Linked DNA regions of Homo sapiens: region 2 is linked to region 1. The links are contacts of gene promoters, found by promoter capture Hi-C in human tissues and cell types (Jung and others, 2019). All regions are on one chromosome and are shown on one strand. The core of a region is centred on a gene start or on the middle of the fragment in contact, and the rest is flanking DNA. Distances in the headings are between cores, read along the strand shown.

What was found. Contacts are between HindIII fragments. The study calls those that stand out against the background at their distance.
Region 2: a fragment that was not itself captured here is called in contact with the fragment with the promoter of MICALL1 in region 1 in 1 of the 25 tissues and cell types used here (lymphoblastoid cells).

What each region holds. Positions count from the first base shown.
Region 1 is chr22:37,903,692-37,908,045 of GRCh38, reverse strand. MICALL1 (MICAL like 1) reads right to left here and starts at 1,749. Exons shown (of 16, transcript NM_033386.4): 1 at 1,478-1,749. The coding sequence starts at 1,623. RefSeq lists enhancers at 1-610, 611-1,426, 1,427-2,242, 2,243-3,058 and silencers at 1,197-1,306, 1,417-2,136. The HindIII fragment of the contact is 31,369 bases long and covers 1-4,354 here.
Region 2 is chr22:38,706,166-38,710,519 of GRCh38, reverse strand. It overlaps GTPBP1 (GTP binding protein 1), which reads right to left. Exons shown (of 12, transcript NM_004286.5): 2 at 1,564-1,675. Among named protein-coding and RNA genes, the nearest start is that of GTPBP1, 2.4 kb to the right of the region's middle. RefSeq lists silencers at 3,928-4,067, 4,248-4,354 and an enhancer at 3,761-4,354. The HindIII fragment of the contact is 3,166 bases long and covers 389-3,554 here.

The sequences.
Region 1 (4,354 bases), core at 500-2,999:
TCACACCCAAGTCCCCTCCCACACTGGGTTTGTCCCTGCTTCCTGCCTCACTCCTGCCCCTCAAACAAAACAGAAGACCCCTTGGGCCCTCCCTTCCAATGCCCAGGTCTAACCCTGGTGCCCTTTTCCTCCATCCTTCTACCCCCTGCTCCTGGGCAACCAGGCATCAACCTTGTGCTTCCATTAGTATGGGTGTCACATGCCCCACAGCGGGCAGGGGCCCACCTACATGACCACCTCATCTTGTTCCCTTCTGTATCCACAGCCCCAAAACCCTCTCCTCCAGGGCCCAAGCCACCACCCACAGACACGGTACTGCAGGGTACATACAGGTAAACCAGGTGCACCTGCATCATGGAATCCTGAGGCAATCCCTTAGAAGCCTTCCCACATGCTGCCCTCGGACAGTGCAAATCTGGAGGTGGAACAGGCACAGAAAGCCTCCATCTGCCAGGCTGGGGGAGCCCTGGCAAGAGGGCTGCATGCGAAAGGGGTAGGGACCAGAACTCTCCTCCCTGATTCACAGGTGAGACCTGAAGTGCAAGGAATGGCACCAGATAAACTCACCCAGTGTTTTAGGAATGAAGGGACGAAAGGAGGAGAGGTTCCAGGGCTCAAGGCAGAGAGAGCAAAGACAGAGGCTCCAAGTCAACTGTTCCGGGGAGTCTGAATGCATTTTCCCATGAGAACCTCATTGGGCAGCTCTGGGCAGGAAGGGGCCATTTCACAACCTGCAGCACCCGGTTGGTGTCTATCAATCGGATCCTAGGAGTCTTCCCAACATTGCCGGCCTGTGACTCCTCTTGCGCGCCCCACCTGCGTGCCCCACTGAGGAGGGCTGCAGGGCCATCGAGCACACACCCGGGAGGCAGGGCTGCGTCCTAAGTTGGGGGGCGTGGGGAAAGCACAGGGTCTGTACATCCATTCATCCAACACCTGTTAGCCGAGGTCTCCTCTGTGCCGGGAACTGTGCTACTGTCCGGAGACAAGCTCCTATTTGGGGGTCAGAGAAGTGGGGGTTCACCTGCACACCCGGAGCAAGGGGCCACCCCGAGTGGGAAGCCTCGGGGGAGAGGGGAGGCCCGGCGAGCCCGTGGAGAAGAGTTTAGGGTAGGAGAGGCCCAGGGCCCCCAAAGAGGGCTCAACACCCCTTCAAAGAGGTCAAGGGCTTAGGGGTTCAGCGATCCTCGGCGGAAATCAGCGCTTTGTGGGCGGGGCCAGTGTCCCCGCGGAGGGACCAGCCTCGGGGGAGAGTTCGGGATCCCACGGGCGGGGTCAGGGCGGCCGGGCGGGGGAGGGGCGCCCTGGGCCGGGGTCTCAGGGACCCGCCCGGCGTCCGGGGCCGTCGGGGGGGTCGGCGTCTCCGTGTCCGGGGGCGGCGCCTGTCACCGCCCGGGCTTCGTGTTACTGAGGGGGGGCGGCGGTCGCGGCCCCAGCCCGCCCCGCGCCGCCCGCTCGCCCGGGGCCCCGCACTCACAGCAGGTCGGGCCGGTGCCGGTGCAGGATGGCGCAGAAGGCCAGGCCGTCCCGGAAGGAGCTGCTCAGGTCGCGGATCTCCACGCCGCGGTAGCCCTCGCACTGGCGGCGGCACCAGGCCAGCAGCGCGCCCCGCGGCCCAGCCATGACCCCGCGGCCCGCCCGGCTCCGGCTCTGGCTTCGGGGCCCCGGCTTGGCCGGGACGGCGGCCGCCGCGCGGGCCCGGTTTCCGGCTGCGGCTGCGGCTCCGAGCTCGGGCGCCGACCGGCAGGCGAGGGGAGGGGCGGAGGCGGGGCCGCGGTGTCCTCGCTCGGGCGCCCCGCGGCCCTGCCCTAACCTGCCCGAGCAGCGCCGCCGCGTGGCCCGGCCCGGCCGGCCGCCGCCTACTCCGCGCTGCCCGCTCGCCTCATTGTGGGCCGGTCGTGGGAGCGGGCGTCCCGCCGCCTCCGTCCGCGCCGGAGGCGCGCCCCACCCAGCAGCAGCTCCGCCTCCAGTGCGGAGCCCACCCCTACCAAGACGGGCCGGCGCCCCATCGCCCGCCCCTCGACGGCGCCGGGCTCCCGCTGCTCCACTGGGTGCCCGCGAAGCCCCCGCACCCGCCGCAAGCGGACCACTCCCCACGATGACTTCACCGCCGCGGCCGCCGCCGCGCCACCCACCGGGAGCCCTCCACCCTTTGGAGGCGGGACACCTCGTGCTCCCATCCGGCCTCCTTCCCGCTCCTAATGACCGCAAATCCCCCCTTCCACCCCTAGCTTGAAACTTTGGGGAGGCAGTTCCCCTGCAGACCTCAGAGCACCCCCCCCCGGATAGCCACCAGCTTCCCTCATCCCGGCTCCCCACCCTAAAGCACCGCTGAGCTGGAAGTTGTCATGTCCACCATCCCCTCCCCCATAGCTTGGCAGGGAGACCCATGCGCCCCTCCGCCACCTTTGGTCCAGGTGTCCCCTAGGTGATTCACTGAGCTCCCCTCAGCCCCTGTGTAAGCTCAGGGATCTCGTCCCTCCCCACTGCGGCCTGCCGGGTCCCCTCAGCCATGGTTAGTGTGGTGGTGGTTTGAGTTCCTATGGGAAGGACCTAGGCCAAGGAGGCCCCTGCCTGGGAGGCATACAGGCAGTTTGTATCTGGCCCTGGAACCTCCCCAAGGCTCATTCTCTATCTTTGCCGTCTTCAAAACCCCCGCCAGCCAACCGACCCTTCCAGCCAGCCAACCCTTCCAGCCAGCCGACCCTTCCGCAGAGGCCCCTCCTGACTCTCCCACAGATGAATCAGCCTCCATCTGCTGCAGAGGTGGTGATGTCACCCTGACCCATGCAATAGTTAGCTGGAGTGGGTATTTCGCTCCCTCCCAAGGGAAGGAACAGGGTCTTAGTCATCTTCATCACCCCTGAGCACTCAGGGGAGTGGAAAGATCAGGCATTTTGGAGCCCTATTAACCCAATCTCCAATCCTGGCTTTCCCCACTCCCTTAGTCATGTGATCTTGTGCCTCCCTGGACCTCAGTTTCCACGACTTAAAAATGGAGATAATACCTGCTTTACAAGGTGGCTGAGAGGATTAAGATGTAAAGTGCCTTACCCTTTAGTTATCACTCATAAATTCTATTGACTCCTGGTACTTGGTAAACATGATGAAATGGACTGAAATATTTTGTACCCAGATTGTCATCTGGGCCATTCTGGGTAAATTATCAAGGAGAGAGGCCGACTTAGGGAATTCTACCTCTTCAAAGTCCACTGAGTCCCAGTCCAGAATACTGGCCCAGGGCCTGGAGAACCCAGCTTGCCAATCTGGGCTGGCCTAACACTCCTGCAACTGGAAGGCCGCCATCTTGGCTCAGTATATGGACTCTCAGGCCACCTAGGAAGAGCATGGCCAGAGTGCCTGGCTAGCCCTCTGGACTTCTCACCAGCCCTGAGCTGCCAACTCCTGCCCTGTCCCCTGTGGGATAACAGTGGCAGGAAAGCAGGATTCCGGATGCTTTTTATGAAATCAGGGACTTGGGTTCAGGATCCTGACACCAGCATCCACCTAGGCCTTCAAAGACCACCCAGGACTCTCATTAAAACCTAAGGGGGGCGGGGTTGGGCACCATGGCTCATACCTGTAATCCCAGCATTTTGGGAGGCCGAGGCAGGTGGATCACCTGAGGTCAAGAGCTTGAGAACAGCCTGGCCAACATAGTGAAACCCCGTCTGTACTAAAAATACAAAAAATTGGGCCAGGCGCGGTGGCTCACTGTAATCCCAGCACTTTGGGAGGCCAAGGTGGGCGGATCATGAGGTCAGGAGTTCAAGACCAGCCTGGCTAAGATGGTGAAAGCCCGTGTCTACTAAAAATAAAAAAATTAGCCAGGCGTGGTGGCACGTGCCTATAGTCCCAGCTACTCGAGAGGCTGAGGCAGGACAATCGCTTGAACCTGGGAGGCGGAGGTTGCAGTGAGCCAAGATCACGCCACTGTACTCCAACCTGGGGGACACAGCGAGACTCCATCTCAAAGATGGTGGGTTTTTTTGGCTCACGCCTGTAATCCCAGCACTTTGGGAGGCCAAGGCAGGCAGATCACGAGGTCAGGAGATCGAGACCAGCCTGGCTAACACGGTGAAACCTCATCTCTACTAAAAATACAAAAAATTAGCTGGGCGTGGTGGCACACACCTGTAATCCCAGCAGGAGAATGGCTTGAACCCGGGAGGTGGAGGACGCAGTGAGCTGAGATCGCACCACTGCACTCCAGCCTGGGCAACAGAGTGAGATTCCATTTAAAAAACAAAAAACCAAAAACAAACAAAAGAAACCAGGAGGGATTATAGCCCTGTCCTCACTAGCCTAAAGGGCTCCCTTTAGGTCCCTGAAGACAGCTCCATATCTGATCCTG
Region 2 (4,354 bases), core at 722-3,221, 800 kb before region 1:
ATGCCTTCCTTTAGGTGGTAAGACCCGCAACTAGAGAGGTAGCAGCAAGGATGGGAAGGAAAGAACAGATACGAAAGATATTTCAAAGGAAGGCACAGCTGCATCTGGAGAGCAAATCCTTCTTCTTTATGTCACTCTTACAACATTTCCAAATACTGTTTCCCATGGAGGTTATTTGTGTATATGCCATCTTTCCTCCTTGGGGCAGGGATCAGATTTTAAGTTTCCAAAAGAGCTTTGCAACAGTGGCAGGCCTTAGAAGATACTTAATAGATATGTATAAAATAGTTTAAGAATGATTTTGAGATTTCTTCAATCTTCAACTCAAACTACAAAAGAATTATTACCTGGCTTTACAAAGCCTACATTCAGCAAAGAAAAGTGTTTCTTTAATGATGCATCCAGGCCCACCTGGGCTTCCTGCAAAGATGACAGAGACAAGTGCTGGTATGGGCTGAATTCATAATCGTTAACAACCCCAGCTGTCATTTCAGCAAAGATAATCCCATAATGAAGATGAAGGTAAGCAGGTCTTGTATTGAAGTTGCTAACTAGGAGTGACCAGGGGAAGAAACCATAATATACTCTGGGATTGTTGTGAGGGCTGCCTTCCTCTAAAATAGTAGGTTCTGTTACAAGGAATAAGCAGCTTGGAGAACAATAACCAGTCCCTTTCAGAATGGTTACAAGCCTATGTGTCTGACAGGATCCAGTGGGGAGAGAGGACGACCTCTGTTATCCCAGCTATCCAGACTAAATAGTCAGTAGGGTCTGGGGCAAGGAGCCTGACAAGAGAGGAATTCTGGGCATCTTTTCTCTGCTGACACCAAGAAGAATCACGGAGGTCCTCTGCTAAGCAGAAAATAAGTCGCAATGGGATCTGTAAACAGGGCCTGGAAGGGAAGACCTCCAGCTGCCCAGGAATAAGCTTAATTCTAGACCTAACTATGGCTTGCCCTATTACCTTAGACAAGAAGTTCCTTTGCTTTGTGCTTCATTTCCTCTTATGCAAATAGAGAGTACTGGAGGTAAAAAGGAAGCATCTGTAAAACTGCTTGGAAAGTCAAGCATATTATGGCCACTAAGGTCAGAATTAACATTCACTTTGTACTTTTATGTACTCCAAACAGTTCTGCAGACACTAAAGAATCACTGTAACTGAGACACATAAGCAGAAAAGTTCAAAAAGCGGGGAAAATGTGCTCTAAATAATTTCTTTTTTTTTTTGAGACAGAGTTTCACTCTTGTCGCCTAGGCTGGAGCACAATGGCACGATCTTGGCTCACTGCAACCTCCGCCTCCCAGGTTCAAGCAATTCTTCTGCCTCAGCCTCCCAAGTAGCTGGGATTACAGGCGCCTGCCACCACTAATTAGCGCCCGGCTAATTTTTTGTATTTTTAGTAGAGATGGGGTTTCACCATGTTGGCCAGGCTGGTCTCGAACTCCTGACCTCAGGTGATCCACCCGTCTTGGCCTCCCAAAGTGCTGGGATTACAGGCGGCAGGGCCACCGCACCCGGCCCAATAATTTTTAAAAATAAAGTGAAAGGAAAACTATGCTCACCTGATCCCTGCCCAATGACATATATGGTCTCTCCGCATCCCTCGTCCATCCTCTCCCACATCTGCCGAAGTAGGCTGTCATACTGCTCTGATGTAGGGCTCACTAGAACCAGCTAGAAAAGAAACCAACAGCCTTAGGACCACACTTGCTAGAAGAGCACCACAGCCAAAGCTGATCAATATAGCCTAACCAAAGATCCTGACTGAACCCCATAGCACCCTCATCTAAAAAGGCTGCACAGCCCCTTCATGCCCTCTCTGCTTCTCCTGAAGTAGCCTTTGAGCCTCAGGCCTTATATGAGCCAAATAATATACTACAATGTGTATGTCTGAGCCATAACCCATGGTAAAGAGGGCACAAGCAGCCTGCCTCCTGCTGCTTAACAGGAAGGGCAGGACCCAAGTGACTGAGAATATGGCACTGTGGATAGAAAGCGCAGTGCTTTCCATCTACATGCCAAAGTCTTCTACCTGCAGTTGGCATCTGGAAGCCCACAAGACATATACCTCATATACCTCCATGCCCTCCACCCACAGGCCAGTGGCTTCCAGGATAACAAAAGAATTCTGTTCTATCTTGTCTTAGCTATATTGAATATTTGGGAATGAAAACTGCCTGCAAGACTCATCTTCATCAACAAAGCACCATCACCATTACCACTACGAGGAGTATTAGCACCGTCATTTTGCAAATGTCTGCCAATAACATTGAAGTGTCAACCATTTACTTGGGTAAGCCATTTGGCAATCAGACCCCATTCTCTAACCACTCCTGTGTGACCTTGGACAAAGAATTTAACCACTCTGAGTTTCAGTTTTTCAATCTATAAAACGGAGCTAATACTACCTGCATCCTAAGGCCACTGTAAAGAGCAAATATAATAACATGTAAAGCATCTAGTCCACAGCTCAATAAATGTGAAACTACAAGGTTTTCTTCACCCAATCATTCCCAGAAAAACCTTGTTGGATGAAACTAGCCACCACTATTCACTAAGTGTTTCTCCCTTTGGAAGCTCTCGGAGCCTTAGGTCTCCACATTTTCTATCGTAAGGACATGAACCTTTCGCTTCTAATCTGTTCCTCCGGAATCAATCTATTCAACCCAACCCTTCTCTCCCTCCACACCATCACTTTTTCTTTTTGATATCATCGATATTAATATACATATGATTTTTTTTAATTGTAAGGAGGACTTCCCCAGCTATGTGATGAAATAACACTTCTAGGAATATTAAATGAGCTGGTCAAGAAATGAAGGTACTACCGTCTTTGCAACTCTGCCCTGCAATTTCCTATCATGTTTCTTCAGCACCTTGACCATGTGTTGACATCCAGTTTGTTTGCTCTTGAGTCAGGTCCATAATCTTGTAACTTCCTGAGTTGACTCATCAGAGCTTGTAATTGTAACCTGGATGTTTCCTGGGTCTTTTACATCGTCCTGGCCATCCCTCTCTCTAAGTTTGGCCATCCTCATTATGGCCTTACAGGCACAAGACAGGACCAACTTTGACAGGCTAGCTGGCTTCCAAGTGCTCACCTGAGACTACAATGGCAAAGAGCAGTTGAAAATAACTTGCTTAGGTTGCAGGGAAAGTTCCTCCCCAGTTTAGGACCAAGTTTCATGCAAATTTGCCGCCATAAACTATAAAAAGTCACAAACATTTTCAAAGCTGGATAAAATGTCTATCGTAACTATCCTACAAATGTAAGTGGTGGTATTGGTGTTCTATCTTTCACCCACTGCTATTTAATCTGCACAGGAAATTAGGAACTATCTCGTTCACTTCAAACATTTACTGAGTCTCTAGTATGCATCAGGCACTATTAGGTGTCTTCTTAAATATTTCTAATTTTTACAACCCATCTGTACTTTCTTAAGATGAGGTGGTTGGAGAACTGAAAGGTTAAGAAACTTTCCCAACGTCACAGAGCCTTTCGATGGTAGGGCAGGAAAGGGAACCCAGCCCTGTCTGACTCCCAAGTTGGCATTCTTTCCCTAAGGAACGTTAAGCACCTTCAAAACACCAGTCACATCTTGTATTTACTTTTCTATTCTTCACAATGTCAAGCCGTTGGCGAGGCCTTAATTCCTGCCTACCTTCTCGACAGCTCAAAAAACACGGTTTTAAACGTCCTTCACTGCTCCACTCATACAAGATGAGCTTCCACTCACAGGATAGCGAGACTAAGGAGCCTGACCATCTTTCCATTTTGTTTCGGGTGGCCTCGAAAAGTAGACATTCTCGGACATGCTCCTCCCCAGCTGAGCGACTACTTTCTGTTTCCTTTCCCGAGTCTGGGAAGAGACGCGGCGGCCACCCTGCCCTGGCCTCCGACTACCTGTCTTCATGAGCGTCTCGGCCCCCTGCCCGGGCCCCCTCGCCCCTCTGCTGTCCCGCGCGGTCCAGGGAGAGGAGACTCTCGGTCTCCGAATCCCCTCAAGTGGGGACCCGAAGAACGGGGAGGGGCACTGAGCGGGGACAGGGAACGCGCGGAGCGCAGCTGGCATCGGGCGCCCCCGTTCCACGTGGCAGAGCCGAGGGGTTACGATCTCGGCGGGAGACGGGAGGGCGGGAGGCTGGGTTGGCGACGCGGGGGAGCCAAGGTGGGTGCGGGGACCATGGGGACGGCCCCTCGCGCCGCGAACCCCCGCACGTCCCGGAGACTAGCAGGTGGGCGGGCTCGGCCCCTTCTTCCCGTTCCGCGCTCCCCGCGGACAGGGCGGCCGCTGGCCCCGCCGTCGCCCGGGAGACTGCTCGGCCAGCCGCCCGCTCCCCTCAGCGCCCGCC